3 separate regions of the Homo sapiens genome follow, and regions 1 and 3 are each linked to region 2. Evidence: promoter capture Hi-C in 16 types of primary human blood cells and fetal thymus (Javierre and others, 2016). All regions are on one chromosome and are shown on one strand. Each heading gives the region's core, a stretch centred on a gene start or on the middle of the fragment in contact. The rest is flanking DNA. Distances are from core to core; before and after follow the strand shown.

Region 1 (3,764 bases), core at 379-2,878, 740 kb before region 2:
TTTTATAAGTATAAAGATTTACTTATAAAATATCTTAGCACTTTAGTGTTAAGATAAGGGACTTGTAAGAGAATCCTTTTGTAATGCAAATCATCTTGTAACACCAACGAACAATATAACATACTTTTAAAATATTAAAATACATGTTTGTTCCATTGCTTTTACCCTTCCCGTGCTCCCATCCCTCAGGCAACATTCAGCCAAGAACAGAAAAATCAACAGAGCTGTTGAGTAGATTTTGTAAATTCATAGCAGATACATAGGCTGATGGAAAAATGCTTTTTTTAATCAGAAAAACATAAGGATTTTCTGATAGAAATTTTCTTATAATATCTAAAGGTGAATTTGGATATCAAGTTAGAATCTTGAAAACAAGACTATTCCGTGATTTCATCCCTTCACTCATTCATTCAAAAATAGCTATTGAGGGGAAATGTCTGAATTCAATCTGAAAACTACAGAGATTATTACATCGACAACTATGTACTAAACTATAAAATAACTTTTCCTCATGGCACATCTTGAATTGTGTGGGAGAAAATGAAAGATAGTTAATCAAGTAGAGTAGATAAAAATAATAAAACATTTCATGCTGAGTTTCTGGGATCCTATACAAAGAGTGACTGAAGGGAACTAGGTTCCTACTGCTCTTGTGTAGGGAATTCAATATATTCTTTAAAAACATCACTGTTAAAAATCCCATGTCGGCTGGGTGCAGTGGTTCACACCTGTAATCCTACCACTTTGGGAGGCTGAGGTGGGCAGATCATTTGAGGCCAGGAGTTCAAGACCAGCTTGGCCAACATGGTGAAACCCCATCTGTACTGAAAATACAAAAAATTAGCTGGGTGTGGTGGTACACACCTGTAGTCACAGCTACTCAGAAGGCTGAAGCACGAGAATCACTTGAGCCCAGAAGGCAGAGGTTGCAGTGAGCTGAGATCATGCCACTGCACTCCAGCCTGGGCCACACAGTGAGACTGTCTTTAAAAATAAAATAAAATAAAATAAAAATAAAAATAAAAATCCCACATCACGGCAGGGGACTTGAAGACAAGAAAAATACTGCATCACTCTAGGCTCTCAGAGCCCAAGTTCAAAATGGGAAATAACTGGAGTCACATACCAAGGACTTGAGAGAGCTCTGCCAGGTCCTCAAATGTATCTTTCAGTCAGCTTACATGTGCCATTGAATCTCAGGCACCCAGCAAACTTCCTAGCACTAGAACAGTACAACAGGTCCTGTTTTACTTAGAATGGAATTTTCCCCTGCCATGCCCGTATTCCTTTATCGGGTATCTCTGGTTATAAAGAACCAAACTGATGTTTTTAGCCATTGTAAGTATACAAACCCACAAAGAAATAAAACATCTATTCACTCAAAGCCCCTTCTTCTTCTTCCTTCTCTCCTAGTGTCTGTTCCATACGTAGCTAATTCTCTGGAATTATGGAGAGTAGACTTACAGTTTGCTAGGCTGATTCCCCTGTAGCCATCCATTCCCAATCTTTTCAGAGTTCTGGCCAACTCACACCTTTCAAAGACCTTGCCCTGGACCGTAACAGAAAGGAGGACAAGCCCCAGAACAATGAGAGCCTTCATGTTGACTGCTAGGTCAGAGTGCTAGGCTGACCAGGGTGAGCTGGCCCCAGTATTTAACATCTTTTAACTTCCTTCTTCCCCTTGTGGTTTGGGGGCTCCACCCTTTCAGTTGTGTGGAAAACAGGAACTGTCTATTGATCCACTGACTCTAAAGAGATTTTTTTAATGCTTGAAGAGAGATATGCTGATGTCCTAAGAATTAGTCTACAGGAAAATAATGAAATGGAATTGTTTAAAGTACTGGCTCTGGAAGAATTGGGGCATAGCACTACTTCCAAGACAGGAACTTTCTTCTGTTTGATTATGAATTTGAGCAATTATAAAGAAAAAAATGACTATTTTGTGCAGCTTAAAATGAGCTGTGATTTTTGAGTAACATTCAATTTTGTGAAATTGTTTTGTATGCATTCACTTTTTTATATTTATCTTTTTTACTTAAAATTATTTTACATATCTTTTCCACAAAATGGACATGACACATGTGCCTGTTGTCTTAATGGGTGTATAGTGTGACACCACGTTGCTCAGCTAGTTTCTTACTCTAGACTCTTTTTGTTACTATAGCAAATTTTTTATTATTATAAATCAGTGTTTTACTATTATAAATAAGGTTCATGTGAACAACTTTACCAACTACCTTTTTTTTTTTTTTTTTGAGATGGAGTCTTACTCTGTCACCAGGCTGGAGTGCAGTGGCGCAATCTCAGTTCATTGCAACCTCTGCCTCCCGGGTTCAAGCAATTCTCCTGCCTCAGCCTCCCAGGTAGCTGGGACTACAGGCATGTACCACCATGCCCAGCTAATTTTTGTATTTTTAGTAGAGACAGGGTTTCACCATGTGGCCAGGATGGTCTGGATCTCTTGACCTCGTGATCCGCCCGCCTCGGCCTTCCAAAGTGCTGGGATTACAGGTGTGAGCCACCACATCCGGCCTACTTTACCAACTACTTTTCACAATACTTTGCCTCCCCTTTCCATATTAGAACATAAGGGGTCATTAGAAAGCAACAGCATTTTAAAAATAAAACCTACCCAAACATATATCCAACTAAATGCTACCTTTGAAAATAGCAATCTCAGGAGGCTGTGCACAGCTTTTAAAACAATGCTACCAGAACTCAAAAAGAACTGCACTTCTGTATCTGCCTAAGAGGACAGATTCTGAGCCACACAAAGTGTCATCACTTTGTAGTTACCCTTATTTTTCATCAGTGGCCTCTAAAGATTACCAGATTTGGTTTTAAATGACAGTTCAAGGACCCTGTTCAAAAATCAAGAATAATCTCATTTTTCAGGCTAGGCCTAATTTTGATTCTTCAATAATAAATAGGGCCAGGTGCAGTGGCTCATGCCTGTAATCCCAGCACTTTGGGAGGCTGAGGTGGGTGGATCACCTGAGGTCAGGCGTTCAAGACCAGCCTGGCCAACATGGTGAAACTCCGTCTCTACTAAAAATACAAAATTAGCTGGGCGTGGTGGTGCGCCTATAATTCCAGCTACTTGGGAGGCTGAGGCAGGAGAATTACTTGAACCCGGGAGGCGGAGGTTGTGGTGAACTGAGATCACACCACTGCACTCCAGCCTGGGCAACAGAGTGAGACTCTGTCTCAAAAAAAAAAAAAAAAAAAAGAAAGAAAAAAAAAATGGCCAGCTGCGGTGGCTCATGCCTGTAATCCCAGCACTTTGAAAGCCCAAGGCAGGCTGATCACCTGAGGTCAGGAGTTCGAGACCAGCCTGGCCAGCATGGTGAAACCCCGTCTCTACGAAAAATAGAAAAATTAGTTGGGTGTGGTGGTGGGTGCCTATAATCCCAGCTACCTGGGATGCTGAGGCAGGAGAATCGCTTGAACCGAGGAGGCGGAGGTTGCAGTGAGCCGAGATTGTGCCATTGCACTCCAGCCTGGGAAAGAGAGTGAGACTCTGTCTCAAATAATAATAATAATAATAATAATAATAAATAGTGAGACAGATTTTCAGGACCCAAAGAGACAGAAACCAATTAAAAGAGTTAGTCTTGGCTGGGCGCAGTGGCTCATGCCTGTATTTCCAGCACTATGGGAGGCCGAGGCAGGAGGACTGCTTGAGACCAGGAGTTGGAGACCAGCCTGGGCAACATGGCAAAACCCTATATTTACTAAAAATAAAAAAAAATTTAAAAATGTGC
Region 2 (3,415 bases), core at 353-2,852:
ATCTAGGCCTCAGTTTCCTCCTCCATAAAATGACAGGGTGGGACTGGATGATCTAAATAGTCCCTTCCGGCCCTTAAAAAGTCCCATGACTCCACTATGACTCAATAAATACTATTTCAAGAGTCAGCTTTTAAGAATAATATGGGCTTGAAGTTAAATGAATGTCTCCCTTTTCTATAAGTTACTTTTTGTTAAGATAAGGTCTTGTTGAGCAAGTCCAAACAGTATTCTAATTACGAAAAAAGAGAGCTGAAAAATAAATTTACAAGTCAGAGCTTTAAATTGTTAAGTACTCGACATATATGAGATGCTGCCTGCAAAACCAAAATCCAATTAGACGGAATTAATTTTAAAATACTAAAATCACAATCTTCATTTAGTGTCAACTTTCTACCCCGTAAAAATGTGATTTCCCCTTACTGCAACACAGAACTGCTTCTATTCATACCAATCAGAAGTTACAGGGCCAAAATGTTTTTCTAAACTATTAAAGAGAGTGGGAGAGGGGGGAAAGCGAAGGGGAAGGAAACCATCTGCTTTAACTTGCAAAAATGATCTTTTCTCCAAAAGACATCAGTGTTTTTCAGAAGAAAAATCCGGAGAGCCCGGTTCACTGGGCGTAGTTTTAAATAAAATTCATGGCGCTGATAGTTTTAGGATTAGACACCTCGAGATGGCGAAAAAGAGAAGAGGACAAACTTCCTGGATTTTCTCTCCCTCTAAGAGAAAGAGATTTCCTCTTGCTGACGAAGGGAAAGGCCCCTTTAACAGTTTTTCTCTACACGGTGGCTGCTGCCAGACTAAGTGGGGCTCTCTCCGCTGCCTTCCTCCTGCCACTTCCCGCAACAAATGGAGCAAGCAAGCCCCGTTTCAGGCAAACTTTTTCGCTGTCAGGCTCAAGCCCGCGGGGCGCCTGGGAGTGGTTTCCCCCGAAGGCTCCTCGCCCTAGCTCGGGGCTGGGAGAAGCTAGGTCTTCGCAAAGGACAACTTTCTGGTTTCCGTTCTAACTTCCACCCATACCACGGAGGGAACCCAGGCGACAAGCGAGGGGGCTCGGGGCGGGGAGCGAGTCTTCGGGGGAGCCGGCGGGGAAAGGAGGGCGGCGGGAGAAGCTGCGGCGGACGCGGGCTGAAGAGAGCGGGCGGGTGGGGGGGTCCTCGGGCTCTCACTTCCTCCGCCATATTTCAGACATTTGACCCCTTCCGCAAAGCGCGCTGTTCTCCCGCGGCGGCGGCGGCTGCTCCTCCTCGCCGGCCCGCAAGGCAGCGCGCTCGCGGGCCCGGCGCCTGGCCCTCGCGCCACCTGCCGCGCGCCGAGGGGCTGCCGCCGCCGGGGCCCCTGACCGCCGCGCCCGGCCCGCGCCTCGCCGCACCCCACCCGCTCCCCTCAGCCGGCGCCCGGCCCCGCGCGGCCGCCGCCGCGGCTTCCCTCAGCGGCCACGCACTCACTCTGCGAACCTCTCACGCTGTCACCGGGTCCCTGCAGCCAGCGTCGCCCCGCGCTCCCCCCGGGTCGCTACTCTAGGCGCCACGGCGGTCCTGCCGCTGCCGCGCCGCTCCGGCTGGTTTACACGCCTGAATCTGGGCGAGGTTTGGCGATGTCGCCTTGACGTCAGGCGTTCAGCCTCGCTCCAGCTTCCGCCCGCGGGCGGGGCGCGCGGGTGCGCGGCCCGGGAAGGGGCGGGCCTAGGGGGCGGGGCGAGGGGAGCCGAGGGGGCGGGGCCGCCGCGCGCCGGGTCCTCGGCGCCGGCCTCTAGCCGGCCTGCATCGCAGCCGGAGCGCAGGCCCTGCCCACGGGCCCCTTAGCTGCCTCTGGGCGGCATGTCTGCCGAGGTTCTTCTCTCTAGCTGCGCCGCGCCTTCAGGCTCGCTTCCCCAGGCTGTCTGGTGGGCGGAATCCGCGCGTCGGTGTTCCTGACCCTCGTGGGTTCCAGTGGAACCCTCCGAAACCCAAAAGGCGCCGCCTCTTAATGCAAACTGTAGTCACCGACTCGTCCAGTCTGTTGGTATTCGCGTCGTCCTTTGTGCTGGGCAAAGTAACCGAGAAGTAACGGAGAGCGCGCATTTTCTACACCTAGAGCTCCCCGAGGGAGCCTGGGCCAGCAAGTCTTTCCATTCTTGAGATGCCTTTTCTCCTGGATTGACAAGTGTTTTATCCATTGGTGTCTTAACCCGGGCGAACTCTTTCCAAATTCCCATGCCAAACGCAGTTAACAAATCGATGATTTCTAAATAAGTTTGTACCCTGCACCTAAACCAACGCCATTTATATAACTAAAATAAATTGCGTATTTAAATGCATGTCCTGGACGCTTTATTCACTTCACAGGATTACCCATAGGCAAGTAGGTTTATCGTGTGACTTCAGGGCACCAGAAAACACTTTCTGTTCCAAAATGCCTCGTTCCAAAAAGGGCGGGAACTTAACACGGGAATTTACCATTCTTACTTACCCTTAGTACAAGAAATTTATCAGAACTTTTTCTTGAAGCAGTTTTGATGGGCGAGGAGATTAAGAGAGCAAAGTGCAGGGAAAAGGGATTGAGGGGTCATTTAAGACTAACTTTCTTGGTTCATAATTTAATTAGGCCCTGTACAAATTATTCTTGAAATAAATCTTAATAAACGTTGATAAATTTGGAAGATAAATGGAATGTGACTAATTTCACTCCGTTTAAGAATATGTAGTGATTGAAAACTAAGCTAACCTAAGTTAAATGAATAGATGAGAATGAATTATAACAGTTCTCTGTGTTTTATAATGTTTTACAATTTAGGTTAATTGAGTAGATTACCTATTTCGATAATTTCTATTTCCTTAGAAAAATATCTTTTTAAAAATTGTTTATTGTCTGCATTTATTGTGTATACAACATGATCGTTTGAAGTAATGTATACATTGTTACATTACCTCACAGAGTTACCTTTTTTTTTGAGAGTCTTGCTCTGTCACCCAGGCTAGAGTGCAGTGGCATGATCTCGGCTCACTGGAATTTCTGCTTCTCAGGTTCAAGAGATTCTCCTGTCTCAGCCTCCCGAGTAGCTGGGATGACGGGCGCGTGCCACCACGCCCAGCTAATTTTTAGTAGAAAGGGGATTTCGCCATGTTGGCCAGGCTGGTCTCGAATTCCTGACCTCAGGTGATGCGCTCGCCTGGGCCCCCCAAAGTGCTGGGATTACAGGCGTGACTCACCGCGCCGGCTGAGTTAGCATTTTTTTTTTCTTTTTTGAGACAGAGTTTCGCTCTTGTTGCCCAGGCTGGAAGGCAATGGCGTGATCTCGGCTCACTGCAACCTCCGCCCCCACCTCCCACCCTCGGGTTCAAGCGATTCTCCTGCCTCAGCCTCCCGACTAGCTGGGATTACAGGCATGCGCCACCACGCCCGGCTAATTTTGTATTTTTAGTAGAGACGGGGT
Region 3 (3,544 bases), core at 112-2,611, 630 kb before region 2:
GAACATTGCAGTTAAGCACAATTTAATTGTTTTAAATGTGTTACTACATAAAATGCAGTAGATACGAACAGCAGGTTCAAACCTTAAACGTCACTAGCAACAAACGACATCTTTTGCAAGGATGCCCATTAACAGACATCACAGCCCCGCGTTACCTCTAAGCAACGTCGTTCAGGAAAACCTTGCATTCTCACTTTCGCTCAACCTTTCAAAAGGTAACACGGGGCCCGGGGGTGGGGGTGGGGGGATTTAACACTTTGTTTTCGAAAATAGGGTCTTATCTATAACTCTTTATTTTTAAACCACATCATAAGGATTTGGGGTGAACGTTCTTTCATTTTAATCACTATGAGATCTGTGGGTGAGCTAACATCTTTTTGTTCCATCCAACCATCGCGCTTCCAATTCTTCCTTTTGGTCCCCGGCCACTCATCTTCACAGGTATTTTCATCACAAAGGCCAACAACGACTGGGCTTCAAAGCACTGCAAGCCCTGGATTAATGAGGCAGGACCAGCGCACCGACTTTTATCTGTGGCTCCAAAAGTCAAAGGACTTGTTGCAAATGAGCCCGCACCTCAGTCGCCTTCAGAAAGTGTGAGGGGAGGAGGAAGGCGCCACGCCGAAACCTGTCGCAAACCCGAGAAGGAGAGCCCCGGGGACTGGGCGCGCGGGATACAAAGGGCCGTGAACGCGGCCTTCCATGAGGCGACAGTGCGCGGGCAGGGAGACAAAATGGAGCGATGGGAGGAATCGGAGCCCGAGCGGCAGCGGCGGGGAAGGGGCGGCGGCGGCGGGCACGCGCCCCGCCAGGGCTTCCTCCTCCGACCAGCGACGGGGGAGGGGGCGCGGCGGCGGCCAGTTCTCTCCGCCGCTTACACGCGGCCCCACCGCCCGGGCCTAGCGCGGCGGGAAGCGCCAGCCGGGTGCCGCCAACAATAGGGAGCGAGGCAGCGCCGGCGAGGGAGGAGCCGGCGGCAGCTGCACAGCGGCCCGCGTCCGCGCTCCGGGCCCCGCGGCGACTCGCCGCGCCCGCGGCCCGTGAAACGACGCGGTAGAACGAGGGGCGGGGGGGCGCCACGCCAGGGGTCGGCGGCGCGGCCCAGAGGCGGCAAGGGCGCACACTCTGCAGTCGCTTCGGCTCGCGGCCGCAGCGGGCCCCGGGTCAGCTTCCCGGCCGCAGCGCCGCCCGCGTCGGCGGCGGGGACCTGGGCTCTCACGTACCTGGTTGAACTCTTCGCCGACATCCGCGTAAATGTCTATGTGGTCCACGCCGTCCGCCATCTTCCTTCAGCCTCGGCCGCCGCCGCCGCCGCCGCCTCCTGCAGGTCTGCCCGCCGCGGCAGCAGCAGCGGATCTAGCGGCGGTGGGGGGGCGCTTGCGTCACTTCCGAGGCCCGAGGGAGGGAGGCGCGGGCGACAGGGGCCGGCCGGGGGCGGGGACTCTGCAGCCCAGCCGCTCTGCTGGCTGAGGAAAGGCTGCGCCTCTGAGGGCAGAGGACGTTTCTTTTGTGTCTGGGTGAGGCCCGGGAGTGGGGGCCAATTTTTTTGTCCTACTCGCGCATCCAGCTTAGCAGTGGGTCCCACCTGTTTCCACACACCGTCTTTTCACGTGGCCTCTGGCATACTCAGACGTTTTGTTAATATTTTCATTTATCCGTTGTTCTTATCTTTCTCACATCCAGGACTTTTAAAGGTGGAAGTTATATGTCCGTGCTTAAATGCAAAGTGTAACCCCCGGGCATTCTGTGAACGGCTTAAGACCAAAAACAATGTCTTGTTTCTGCATCCTCAGAGACCAGCAGAGTTTTATTTGCATCGTAAACGCTAGATACCCGTCAGTGGTTATCTTTGCATGCTGTTTATGTTGCCATTTCCATCTCTAATCTTCGTGGGCTTCTTTCCCCCCCACCTTCCTCTCGCATTCATTGCCATTCATTTTTTCTTCCTTAGATCTACAGTAGGTTGTCTCTGGCGTAGTTCAGATGCTTCTAACATGAATGCAGTCATCTTAGAGCACACCCAAGAGAGTGGAGGTATCTTGAGGCCAGGGGGGCTTCTCTCTCAGAATCCTAGAATGTCCCAACGGGAAGGGAACTGGAAAGGTGTCCTTAGGTCTAAACATCTCATTTTACAGAAGAGAAGACTGAGGCCTAATAGAACCTAAGTGATTTAACCAGGTCACATGGTCAATAAAGGTAGGAACATTCAGCCACGATACTTTACTCAAAGATGTCTCTCCAGTTTGAAACTTTCCCCTCCATTCTTAATTTCTTTTTCACTCATTAAAAAATATACTGTAGTAGAGCGTGTTTCCTGAGAAACTGGCCAGAAATCATTCATAGAATAACCCAAACAACATCTGTAAGGTTGGGCATCTCTAATCCAAAAATTTGAAATGCTCCAAAATCTGAAACTTTTTGCGCACTGACATGATGCCACAAGTGGAAAATTCCACACCTGATCTTATTTGCCAGGTCGCAGTCAAAAATGCAATCAAAACTTTTTTTCATGCACAAAATAACTAAAAGTATTGTATGAAATAATCTTCAGGCTGTGTGTATAAGGTATATGTGAAACATAAATGAATTTCGTTTAGGCTTGGGTCCCATCTCCTGGATAATTTATGTATATGCAAATATTCCAAAATCCCCTCAAATCCAAGCATTTTTGCATAAAAAAGACTCAATCTGCACTTGGTATGGTGGAAAAAGCATGGTTGCAGTCCTGGAGGCCAGTCTGGTGATCTGGGTACCCATTTCTAATCAGACATTTTATCAGCTAGATGACCTCAGTCAAGTTTTCAACTCTCATATTCAATCTCAGAATCTTTAAAATCCAAGCAATAATATCTACCTCACCAAGGTTGAAGGTTGGTGATACTTTAAATGAGTTAATATGAGTTAATATGCAAAGTGTCCTGTCCTGTTCCAAGAATCAGTATTTAAATACTGATTCACTTTCTTTCTTGGGGCATTATAGAAGAAAAGAGACACTGACGTTTAAAGGTGAGAGTATTTTCTAGATTGGTGGTGTGGTAGAATAATGGCCCACCATAGATGTTCATATTCTGATCCCTGAAATCTGTGAATATGTTACCCTTGCAGATATGATTAAGTTAAGGATCTTGAGGTAGGGATAGGGATACCTTGATTGTCCGGTAGGCTCAAAGTAATTTGCAAGGGTCTTTAGAAGTGAAAGAGGGAAGCAATAGAATCAGAGAAGATGCAAGGATTTCTATTGCAGTTTATCTTCTTTCAATACAATTAAAAACCATTCCAGCCAGCATGGTGGCTCATGCCTGTAATCTCAGAACTTTGGGATGCCGAGGAGGGAAAATTGCTTGAGCCCAGGAGTTTGAGACCAGCCTGGGCAACATAGGGATACCTTGTCTCTACAAAAAAATTAAAAAATTAGCCAGGCATAATGGCGTGCACATGTAGTCCCAGCTACTCAAGAGGCTGAGGTGGGAGGATCACTTGAGACTGGGAGGTTGAGGCTGCAGTGAGCCATAATTGCACCACTGCACTCCAGCCTGGGTGACAG

Evidence for each region. The method cuts DNA at HindIII sites, captures the fragments that hold promoters and counts their contacts. A CHiCAGO score of 5 or more calls a contact.
Region 1: the fragment with the promoter of LYZ here is called in contact with the fragment with the promoter of RAP1B in region 2 in 1 of 17 cell types (neutrophils); the score reaches 8.5 in neutrophils.
Region 3: the fragment with the promoter of CPSF6 here is called in contact with the fragment with the promoter of RAP1B in region 2 in 1 of 17 cell types (neutrophils); the score reaches 7.4 in neutrophils.

Annotation. Positions count from the first base shown.
Region 1 is chr12:69,346,245-69,350,008 of GRCh38, reverse strand. LYZ (lysozyme) reads right to left here and starts at 1,628. Exons shown (of 4, transcript NM_000239.3): 1 at 1,465-1,628. The coding sequence starts at 1,600. The HindIII fragment of the contact is 11,988 bases long and covers 1-3,764 here.
Region 2 is chr12:68,609,086-68,612,500 of GRCh38, reverse strand. It overlaps RAP1B (RAP1B, member of RAS oncogene family), which reads right to left and starts at 1,602. Exons shown (of 8, transcript NM_001010942.3): 1 at 1,458-1,602. RefSeq lists a silencer at 1,286-1,745. The HindIII fragment of the contact is 9,459 bases long and covers 1-3,415 here.
Region 3 is chr12:69,237,386-69,240,929 of GRCh38, reverse strand. CPSF6 (cleavage and polyadenylation specific factor 6) reads right to left here and starts at 1,361. Exons shown (of 10, transcript NM_007007.3): 1 at 1,224-1,361. The coding sequence starts at 1,283. RefSeq lists enhancers at 45-624, 625-1,205 and silencers at 669-888, 1,039-1,538. The HindIII fragment of the contact is 17,360 bases long and covers 1-3,544 here.